2 separate regions of the Homo sapiens genome follow, and region 1 is linked to region 2. Evidence: promoter capture Hi-C in human tissues and cell types (Jung and others, 2019). All regions are on one chromosome and are shown on one strand. Each heading gives the region's core, a stretch centred on a gene start or on the middle of the fragment in contact. The rest is flanking DNA. Distances are from core to core; before and after follow the strand shown. Region 1 has its middle 95 kb from the start of VWDE. Region 2 holds the start of THSD7A (thrombospondin type 1 domain containing 7A).

Region 1 (4,647 bases), core at 1,403-3,902, 480 kb before region 2:
ATGGCCTTCTATAATTTTATTTTATGTATTTACTTTTTTAGAGACAGGATCTCCTTCTGTTGCCCAGACTAAAATGCAGTGGTGTGATCATGGCTCATTGCAGCCTCAAACTCCTGGGCTTAAGCAATCCTTTTGCCTCAGTCTCCTGATAAGGTGGGACCACAGATAAAAGACACAATGCCTGGCTAATTATTTTTTGTAAAGACGAGGCCTCCCTATGTTGCCTAGGCTGGTCTTGAACTCCTGGGCTCAAGCGATTCTCTGCTGGGATTATAGGTGTGAGCCACTGCACCCAATCTACCTTCCATAGATTTCACTTAAAACTTCCTCCCTTTTTGTCACACTCTCACTGAGAGTGTGATGAAACTTAGGTCATCAATGCTGCTCTCAGTCACCATAATTTTGGGTTTTGGTCTCAACATGTCTTGGGAAAAGCTGTCCACAACATGAAGTCATCAACTTCTCATCCTGGTTTACAGGTTGAATGTCTCTGGTTATTGTTAAATTATCTGTGTAGCTCACACATCAAACATGAGATCTGTCCTTGAAATTTACATCAAGTTGTCCAAACTCAATTTATAGGGCTTCAGGAACAGAGCAGTTCTTGTAGGGTTGTAACCAGATATTGGAGGAAATATAGTCAGATATTGGATGTAGCTAGATATTGGAGGAAAACAGAATTCAGGATCCACTCTAGTCTACAGGTAGATAAAAAAAACTCAAACAATAAGCACGGCTGCAATCTAATAACAGGTTCACTATAGTCTTTCTTCATCAATATAATTTTTCTCTTAACAGCGACGCCCCCACTTACACCAAAGATAATCCGAGTAAGACTAATTTTGTTTGCAAAATAAGTCTAGTCTCATGAAAATTGGCCTATTTAAGTGCACCAAGAATAGCAATTGAAAACATAGCCCTTTTATTTTTTCCAAGTTTGCTTTGCTAAACTTTTGATAAGCAATATCAGGCTGGACTTTTAAAGACCTCTTGAGGCTAGAAAGCCAAGCCAATGCATACTTGAGACTTTTCCTGCAGTACCTATAGATTCGTTCTATGTACATTCTGAAATATGGCATCCCAGTCCAAGGCTTGGAAATATAGTCAATATTACCAATTGTATTTTATTATAAAAGCATATTTTTTTGAATTTATGAACATATATTGCCATAAAATAAGAATACTCATGAATAGTTTCTGGATTTTGGAGGGATTAGATAGGAAAAAGTAAACGTTTCAATTTTTGATCACAAGGGTATACCTTACCAAATTGCTATAAGCTATAGATAGCTTTTTTAAAAGTTTCCTTAAATCTGAAAAACAAAATGTTAAAAGAACCAGCAATATTTAAAATTTTAAAAGCCATAAAAATCCGTATCTTTCCTCATAATTTTTTCATGTTTTCAAACTGAGACATGTTTAGCTTCTCTGTATCACATAAAAGCAAGATGCCAAAAGATGTATACTTTAAACTTAGATTCAGCAATTAATATTTCAGTTTAATTTAGAAATGACTTGAGTATTTCATGAATATCTATTACATATATTAGCATAACTTTAAGATTTCAAGTTATTGAAAAAGATGTTTGCCACTATGACAACTTTATTTATAAACTTTTATCCCATTTATATTAACCTAATTTACTTGTTGTTAACAATTATGCTTGAATTGCTTCTTCAACAAAACTAGCCATTGAAGTTTGGAAAATGCTATGCAAAATATGTCATTTTGGTAGATTGATTTTTGAGCATACCTCATTTTATCATACTTTACAGAACTTTACAAATACTGTGTTTTTTACAAATTGAAGGTTTGTGGTAACCCTGAATCAAACAAATCTATCAGCAACAATTTTTCCAACAGCATATGCTTAGTTCATGTTTCTGTGTCACATTTTGGTAATTCTTGGAATATTTCAAACAATTATTATATCTGTTATGTTGATCTGCAATCAGTGATCTTTGATGTTACTATTGTAGTTGTTTTGGAGTTCCACAAATTGCACTAATATAAGATGGCAAATTTAATCCATAAATTTTGTCAGTTCTGACTCCTGCCACAACAGGCAGTTCCCTCATCTCCTCCTTTTCTCAGGCCTCCCTCTTCCCTGAGACACAGTAATATTGAAATTAGGCCAATTAATAACCCTAAAATGGCCTCTAATGTTCAATGAAAGAAAGAGTTGTACGTATCTTACCTTAAATCAAAAGCTAGAAATGATTAAGCTTAGTGAGAAAGCCATGTTGAAAGCTGGGATAGACCAAAAGCTAGACCTTTTGTGCCAAACAGTTAAGTTGTGAATGCACGGGACGTTTTTAAAGAAAATTAAAAGTGCCACTCCAGTAAACACATACGGGAAAATTACATAGCCTTATTTGCTGATGTGAAGAAAGTTTTAGTAGTCTAGATAGAAGATAAAACCTGCTTTAACATTCCCTGCAGAGCAATACCCTAACTCTCTTTCATTCTATGAAGGCTGAGAGAGGTGAAGAAGCTGAAAATGAGATGTTTCAAGGTAGCAGAGGTTGGTTTATGATGTTGAAGAAAAGAAGCTGTTTCCATAGCATAAAAGTACAAGGTTAAGTAGCAAGCCCTGATATAGAAGCTGTATCTAGTTATCTAGAAGATCTAGTTAATTTCATTCATGAAGGTGGCTATACTAAACAAGAGATTTTCAATGTTGATTAAACAGTCTTCTATTAAAAATAGATGCCATCTAGGACTTTCACAGCTAAAGAGGAGAAGTCAGTGCTTGGCTTCACAGCTTCAGAGGATAGGCTTACTCTCTTCTTAGGAGCTAATGCAGCTGGTGACTTTAAGTTGAAGCCAATCCTCCTTATCCTTCCTTAAAATCCTAGGGCTCTTAAAAGTTGTTCTAAATCCACTCAAGATAATTAGAATTAGAAGTGGAACCCGAAGATGTGACTGACTTGCAGCAATTTCATGATAAAACTTATAAAAAACCAAAGGAGTTGGCCTGGTACAGGAGTTGGGATTACACCTGTAATCCCAGCACTTTGGGAGGCCGAGGCAGGTGGATCACGAGGTCGGGAGTTTGAGACCAGCCTGACCAACACGGTGAAACCTCGTCTCTACTAAAAATACAAGAATTAGCTGGGCATGGTGGCGTGTGCCTGTAATCCCAGCTACTTGGGAGGCTGAAGCAGGAGAATCACTTGAACCTGGGAGGTGGAGGTTGCAGTGAGCTGGGATTGTGCCACTGCACTGTAGCTTGGGCGACAGAGTGAGACTCCATCTCAAAAAAAAGAAAAAAAAAGGAGTTGCTCTTTAAGGATGAGCAAAGAAAGTGGCTTCTTGAGAGGGAATCTACTCCTGGTAAAGATGATGTAAACATTATTGAAATAACAAGATATAGAATATTACAACACCTTCGTTAACAAAGCAGAGGCAGAGTTTGAGAGGCTTGACTCCAATTTGGGAAGAAGTTCTGCTATAGGTAAAATGCTGTCAAACAGGAGCATATGCTACAGAGAAATAAGTGCATGAAATGGTCAATCGAACCGGCAAACTTCACTGTTGCCTTATTTCCACAGCCATACCAATCTTTCTTATTGAACTGAACTTGTATTTGCTTGCCTGGCACCAGAAAGCCAAATGATACCAACGTTTGCAGCTAGAGAAAGATGGGCATTTATTGCAGGGTGCCAAGCAAGAAGGACAGGCAGTTAATGCTTAAGAAGAAGTTTCTGATGGCTTACAAGTAAGAGTTTATTAGGCAGGTGCACATTTCAGGAGAGCAGAAGTAATAGGCAAAATCATAATACATGAAGGTTATACATTGGTTTGGTCCCAAAAAGTAGGATTTCTTGAAGCAGGGGCTTACAGATTATAGGAAGATTCAGAGATTCTTTGATTTGCAATTAAGGAAGCAAGGCTTTGTTCAAAAACTTGTGGTTGACGGAAAGAAATGTGAAGGTTTGGGCTTAACATAGGTTAGTTAAGATAGGGGAAACTGTTAATCATTATAGGGTGCCATGCCAGAGTCAGGCCAGGAGAACAAGCCATAATTTACTGGGTCAGAGCAACCAGGTTAGTAAGAATAATGGCTTGAAGGTGTGACTCTTTCCAGGTCCCTCAAGGAGAAACTCAGAACAAAGACTGGCAGCCAGAGTCCAGTCCTCAGTTCTCTTTTATCTGAGATCTAGGTGACAGCGGTCATCATTTTCCATCTGCTGAACATCCTGATTTCTGAAAAATAACTCAAGAACGAATGTATCTTTTAGTTTCTCTAGAGAACCAAAACACTCTGAGACGTTGACTTGCTTGGGTGACTTGTTTAAGCTACTTACTTTGTAGTTTAAATAATAGTTCTTCCCAAAAGCTATAAACAAATTATAAACTAAATAGCTTGTTTAAGCTATTAATATCTTCTTCCTTATTGGGTTCTTTAATTCTCAAGGCTAGCTGGAATTTCCTTGGAAAGCAAGAATTTTCCTTTATTTTCATGTGGTTATTTTCTTGGGGTTGGTGGGGGGCTGGCAAACCCCTAAGTGGGGTCTCTGTTCTTACCTTTAGCTACTACCACCTTGATCAGTGAGCATCCATCATCGTCAAGGCAGGACCCTCTAACAGCAAAGATTGACTTGCTGAAGGCTCAGATGATAGCTAACATTTTTTAGCAATAA
Region 2 (5,279 bases), core at 1,847-4,346:
TTTTTATAATTATAAAACTGTTGATGTTAAAAGTTGTTTCCCTTTCCATCAAGGAACTGAATATTTCATAATTGTTTTAAAATATTGATACTAATGACTAAAAGTCATTGTCATGAGTCTCATGAGTTGTAATATATATTTATATGTTTATGTTCTAATAAAAGAGAAAACAGATGTGTATAGGTATGTTCACATCCTTACCTCTGGAGTTTAGAAATGATAGCAAAATTAATAGAGGCAGAATAAAGACACCTATCACATGAGAGGTGATAAGTTTAGAATTTTTTCATTTCTAAATATTAAAAAAATATGCTTTGCATTTGTCATTCATTGGTTTGGAGAACTTTTATCGCACTGGCTCATTAATATTTGAACAGTTCTCCATGAAAAATGACGAACGATTTACTTCATGGCAGGCTGTACAGATGGTCAATTTAATCTGCATCCTTGAGACTTCTCATGACTAAATTTTGACATCATGTCATTAAACATTTGTGTATTATTATTTATGTCATATTCTAGGAAACAAATATTGCTATGTCTTGCTATCTCTTGCCATCTATCAGTTTTATTGATAGGATTTATCTACCTAGACACTATACCTTTCACAAAGGAACACATATCAGGATATATACATCACTTTTGTCTCCTCAGAGACCCATACATTTTTGTCCTCAAGTGCAATAATGACATTGTTATGAACAAATGTGTGGCAGGTGTGGAGACAAATGTTTATATGACTTGGATTCTCTAACCTTGTTCAGAGATATCTTTGCTGATGATTGTGTGTGTTTGTGTATGTGCATGTGTGTGTGTGACTCCTAGGCCTTGTGTACGTTGAAATTGAAAGAAGGAAACCAAATGTTGGCTATTTTGAAACAGTACTGCAGAACATATCACCATAATTGTGTATTGTAAATGGCAGCAAATTGGAACCTAGAAATTGACCCCGTATAATGCTTGAATTTGTAGCTATGATGTTTACACTCTTGACAAGTTGAGTTATTATTATACCACCATGGGTAAATATAAAGGTCAGAATCTTAAAATTTCTTTTGACAATAAGCTATTAAGTATAGTGTCGGATGGCTTTTTGAAGGGCTAGGTAAATGACCTTGCACATTAACTTAATTCCTCAGACTCTCTGTCCTCTGTTATATAATGAATTCCCACTTGGTGAATTGATTGGCGCTTCCCACGAATGCGTAGAATGGCTGCTGTTAGCAGAGTATGTCCAGTTTGAAATACTTCCTGTGCCAGAGTTAGAGGATTTCAAGGTTTAGGGCACTAACAGTAGCTGAGAAATACAAGCAGAAAGGATGGGAAAATGATTCCTTGTGGAGTGGACATGGAAATTTTCCTGAAACGACAGAACCCAGGAAGCAATAGCAGGTCCCATTTCCTTCTGTGGTGTAACTGTCAAAAGAAGTGATCCTTCAGGGAACCATACATTAGTTAAGATCAGGCTTCCTTTTTATTCCTTATCAACCTATAATCTTTTGATTGTTGCCTGTTTTTCACGAGTGAAGAAATAGTAAGCCACACTAGCTTATCTCTCCTAATCACAGACTCACAGCGCTCGGGCTCTCTGAGCTTTTAATTCCTTCTTAGAGGCCTAACAGAGCGGAAAGTAAACAAAGACCAAATTTGCAACCTTCAACGTAGCTAATTTCCTCTGATGTCAGAATACTTAAACAGGCAGGACCTGGGAATTATTTGATCAAACCCGCTTTTAATCTAATGCATGCAGAGGGGCTGTGTCTGGAAGGCTTTGCAAAATGACAAGGGTCCCAAGGGAGCCTTATGGAAGGTTTCCTCTTTCAGAAAGAGTAGCTTCCTCATCTTAAACTCTAGGGTAGCTATGTTGGAGTAAATTCATAAAAAGTAGTTTTCCTGCTTTTAAAATTTTATTTTATTTGGCTGAAAATTGCTGATGGGATAGTAGTTTTCTTTGGCTTTCCGTTTGCTGAATTTTTAATGGTTAAATGCCTACTATTTTAGCTTTACTGTGAAATGAATTAATAATAAAATATATTATTATTAGCTAAAGGGAGAAGGAGAAAGGGGAAAGCATTATCCGACTTCACACACATTCTTCTATTACTACTGGTAGAAGAAAGTGAAAACACAAAGGACAAAAGATGCAAACACATGTGGTTCCTTATTTAGATTGCGACAGGCATTTTGCTACAGTAAGAGTTAAGAAAAATCGGTGTCAGGGAAATTTTAAATGAAGAATTTACTAATTCCAAGATATCCAGACAGCATTACTGACTCAGTTTGACTCACAACTATCTGAATACTTAGAAGTAGCATATTTTTGAGGGAAAGAAGTAGATGAAGGGACAGAACTCTATACCTGAAATATAATTTTAATTTTAAGGGTTTTTTTTTTGTACAATTGTATTTATGTAATTAGGTAGCATTGCAAATACTCATTAACACTAATTCAGTTTTAAAGGCTATTAAAAGACAATTTAATTTGTCACAGAGCATCAATATTGCTCATATTTTTATTGATAATAGATTAAGTTAAAAACAACATTTAAAGAAGGGTTTAAGTGCATTTTGACAAGTCAACATTTCTGCTCTCGTGTTTTCACACCTGATCTCAAATACTGCTCCCCACACAAAGTAATTCAGAAGCCATGGCTTAAAAATAGATAATAAACACTGATGCTTTGTGTAAATACGTACTAAGAATAGCATGCCACTAGATCTAGCATTTGACTCCTTGGATGACAGTGAATATCAATGCCTGTTATTTGTCATTCTGAAATCTGCCGGGTGATGATTCTTTTTATTGGTGCATCCTTCCAAACATATTTCATCGCACCATGTGCACCGGAGTTCTTTAGGCGGGTATGTCGGAGGTGGGTGTCGCCTGGCTGGCCCCTCTCCCCTTTGCTCGCCCCCTTTCTCGCCCTCGCGCTCTCGCCTCCCTCTGCCTCCAGCCCCCTCTGCTCCTTTGGGCTCACGCCCCCCTCCTCCCCCTCCAGCTGGCGGGGGCTGCGCTGCCTCCCAGACCTAGCAGACCTGCTCAGTCAGCTGGGGCCCCCTGAGGACAGTTGCCTCCGGAGCCGCCGGGACCTGCCATTCTGCGAGGAATGGCAGCGGCAGCAGCATCCCCGCCAGAGGCGGCGGCGGCGGCGGCAGCGGCCACGGCCACCACCGCGGACGCTATTGTTCCCTGGTGTTAGACGCGCTCTCCCTCCTTCTCATCTGAAGCGAACAATAGCAGGAAAGAGCTTTGCTTTCTGTACTCTTTGAAAAGACGTTCCAAGAGCGGAGAAAAATTCCCTGCCGAGCGTGCTACGGCTCTGGACCCTGGAGTGGCTGCAGGCGGCATGGGGCTGCAAGCCAGGCGCTGGGCGTCCGGGAGCCGGGGCGCTGCGGGGCCGCGCCGGGGCGTCCTGCAGCTGCTGCCGCTGCCGCTGCCGCTGCCGCTGCTCCTGCTGCTGCTGCTACGCCCGGGCGCCGGCAGGGCTGCGGCGCAGGGCGAGGCGGAGGCGCCCACCCTCTATCTGTGGAAGACTGGTAAGTGGGACGGAGTTACCCTTTCCCCATCTTCACATCTGGGGCCACATTAAGGAGCTGGTGGGCTTCTGTAGGGACCCCGGTGCTTTTGGATGGCTTGGTTATGCTGGTATCCTAAGGTAAAAAGTATGATTTCTTAGGAAGCAAATAGGTCATGTCCGATGCAATTAGGAAAGAAAAGCATAACAACTAAGAGGCAACAGTGAGTAGCTGGAATATTTCTCTCGCAGCTCTGTAATGAGGGCAACGCGCACTTCCATGATGAAGTGCATTATTTTTAACCCCTGGATTTTCATTCTACTAGGAGTTTCTCAAACAGATTTCTAGCAAAGAACAAGCAAAGAGTTTAGTCTCAGTCTTTATTCTTTAGGCAAAGCAATATGCTCACTGTCATGACATTTGTGGATATAGAGTTGAATTTGTTAACTTTAGCTTTGTGATATGTGGGACACCTCAGAAACAAGCCAAGTGAGGGCGGTTCCAACAATTAAAGGCAAATGGGGCTCCAGTGAGCCTTCAGGGAAAGACTGAAAACTCAATTATTAACTAGCGAGTCGGAGGATTTTTAAAGTGTACAACTTTTAGGATGTCTGGGTTCAAACTTTCTCTTCCTTCCTTGAGAATTGTTTTGCTTTGTTTTTCAACCACCCAACAAAAGCAGCTACTAACTGCCCATCATTACCCATTGGCAAAATGCTTGGAGTTTCTGGCGGGGGCCGTGACAGGCAGGAAAACAATACGGAGTGAGGAATTACCAACCCCTTTTCTGCGGGTTCGCTTTCTCTCTGCATTAAAAAAACATTGAGAATTCCTTAGGGGACCTGAAACTTCACATGTTCATAGGAATAAAATGGGAAAAGATTATTCCTGTTGCTTAGAGCTAGGGGGTAATTTAAGAATAACTTGGTCATGCCAAACATTAAGAGAATGTTGTAGTTGAAAGGGAAAGTATGTATTCGTCATGGGGTTGCAAACAGGTTTCAGGGAGTGAGTGTCTTTTCCTGCTTCAGCCCATCTCTGCACCACTACTGAAGAGACAGCTCAGTCTACTCTACAATTGCATCACTATCGATATCTGGAATTTTTAAAGAAGTTGCAGCTATCCAGAAATTTAGTGAGGAGATTAAACAGAAATTTATTTAAAGTCAAAGTACACAATTTGTCTTAGAAGATTACATGAAACATATACACATTTTAAAAAGCAAGATTATTCTTGCTAACACCTTAAGTTTGAAGATCAGTTGAGTAATGAATTCAAATGAAATAAAATTAATTTACTTCAATTTGAAACGAAGATTTGAAGATCTCTAATTTAGCGTAAGCTAGGGTTTTACTTGTTAAAAGCACATTCATAATGACAAACATTAATCAAATTATAATTTACCATTAAATGGTATCATATGGATGCTTGGGGAGAGCTTCTTAGGTAAGTCAGTGTAGGATGAAATAGTAGTTGCCTAGTTGAAATTTATACTAGCAAAGTAACAAGAGCCAAGCAATAATTCAGATGGAAAAGAGCCCAGCCAACATTCACTGTACAGCATCTGAGGTGTCAATATATGTCATCATAAATGTCATGGTAGGAACACAAGCCAATAAACAGTTTAAAATAGTGGGAAGCTCTCAGAAACAATGATATGGAGACCTTGATTCCAGTGCCAGTCCTAGCTCTTGCTAGCTGTAGGAATTTTGGCAGTTCACTTAAATTTTGACCCTTAGTTTTCTCAACTGCATGTAAATGT

Evidence for each region. Contacts are between HindIII fragments. The study calls those that stand out against the background at their distance.
Region 1: a contact is called between a fragment that was not itself captured here and the fragment with the promoter of THSD7A in region 2, in 1 of the 25 tissues and cell types used here (mesendoderm cells).

Annotation. Positions count from the first base shown.
Region 1 is chr7:12,306,410-12,311,056 of GRCh38, reverse strand. No RefSeq gene overlaps it. Among named protein-coding and RNA genes, the nearest start is that of VWDE, 95 kb to the left of the region's middle. RefSeq lists a silencer at 2,767-2,967. The HindIII fragment of the contact is 3,913 bases long and covers 696-4,608 here.
Region 2 is chr7:11,830,015-11,835,293 of GRCh38, reverse strand. THSD7A (thrombospondin type 1 domain containing 7A) reads left to right here and starts at 3,096. Exons shown (of 28, transcript NM_015204.3): 1 at 3,096-3,537. The coding sequence starts at 3,348. RefSeq lists enhancers at 2,419-2,958, 2,959-3,499 and a silencer at 5,057-5,279. The HindIII fragment of the contact is 9,895 bases long and covers 1-5,279 here.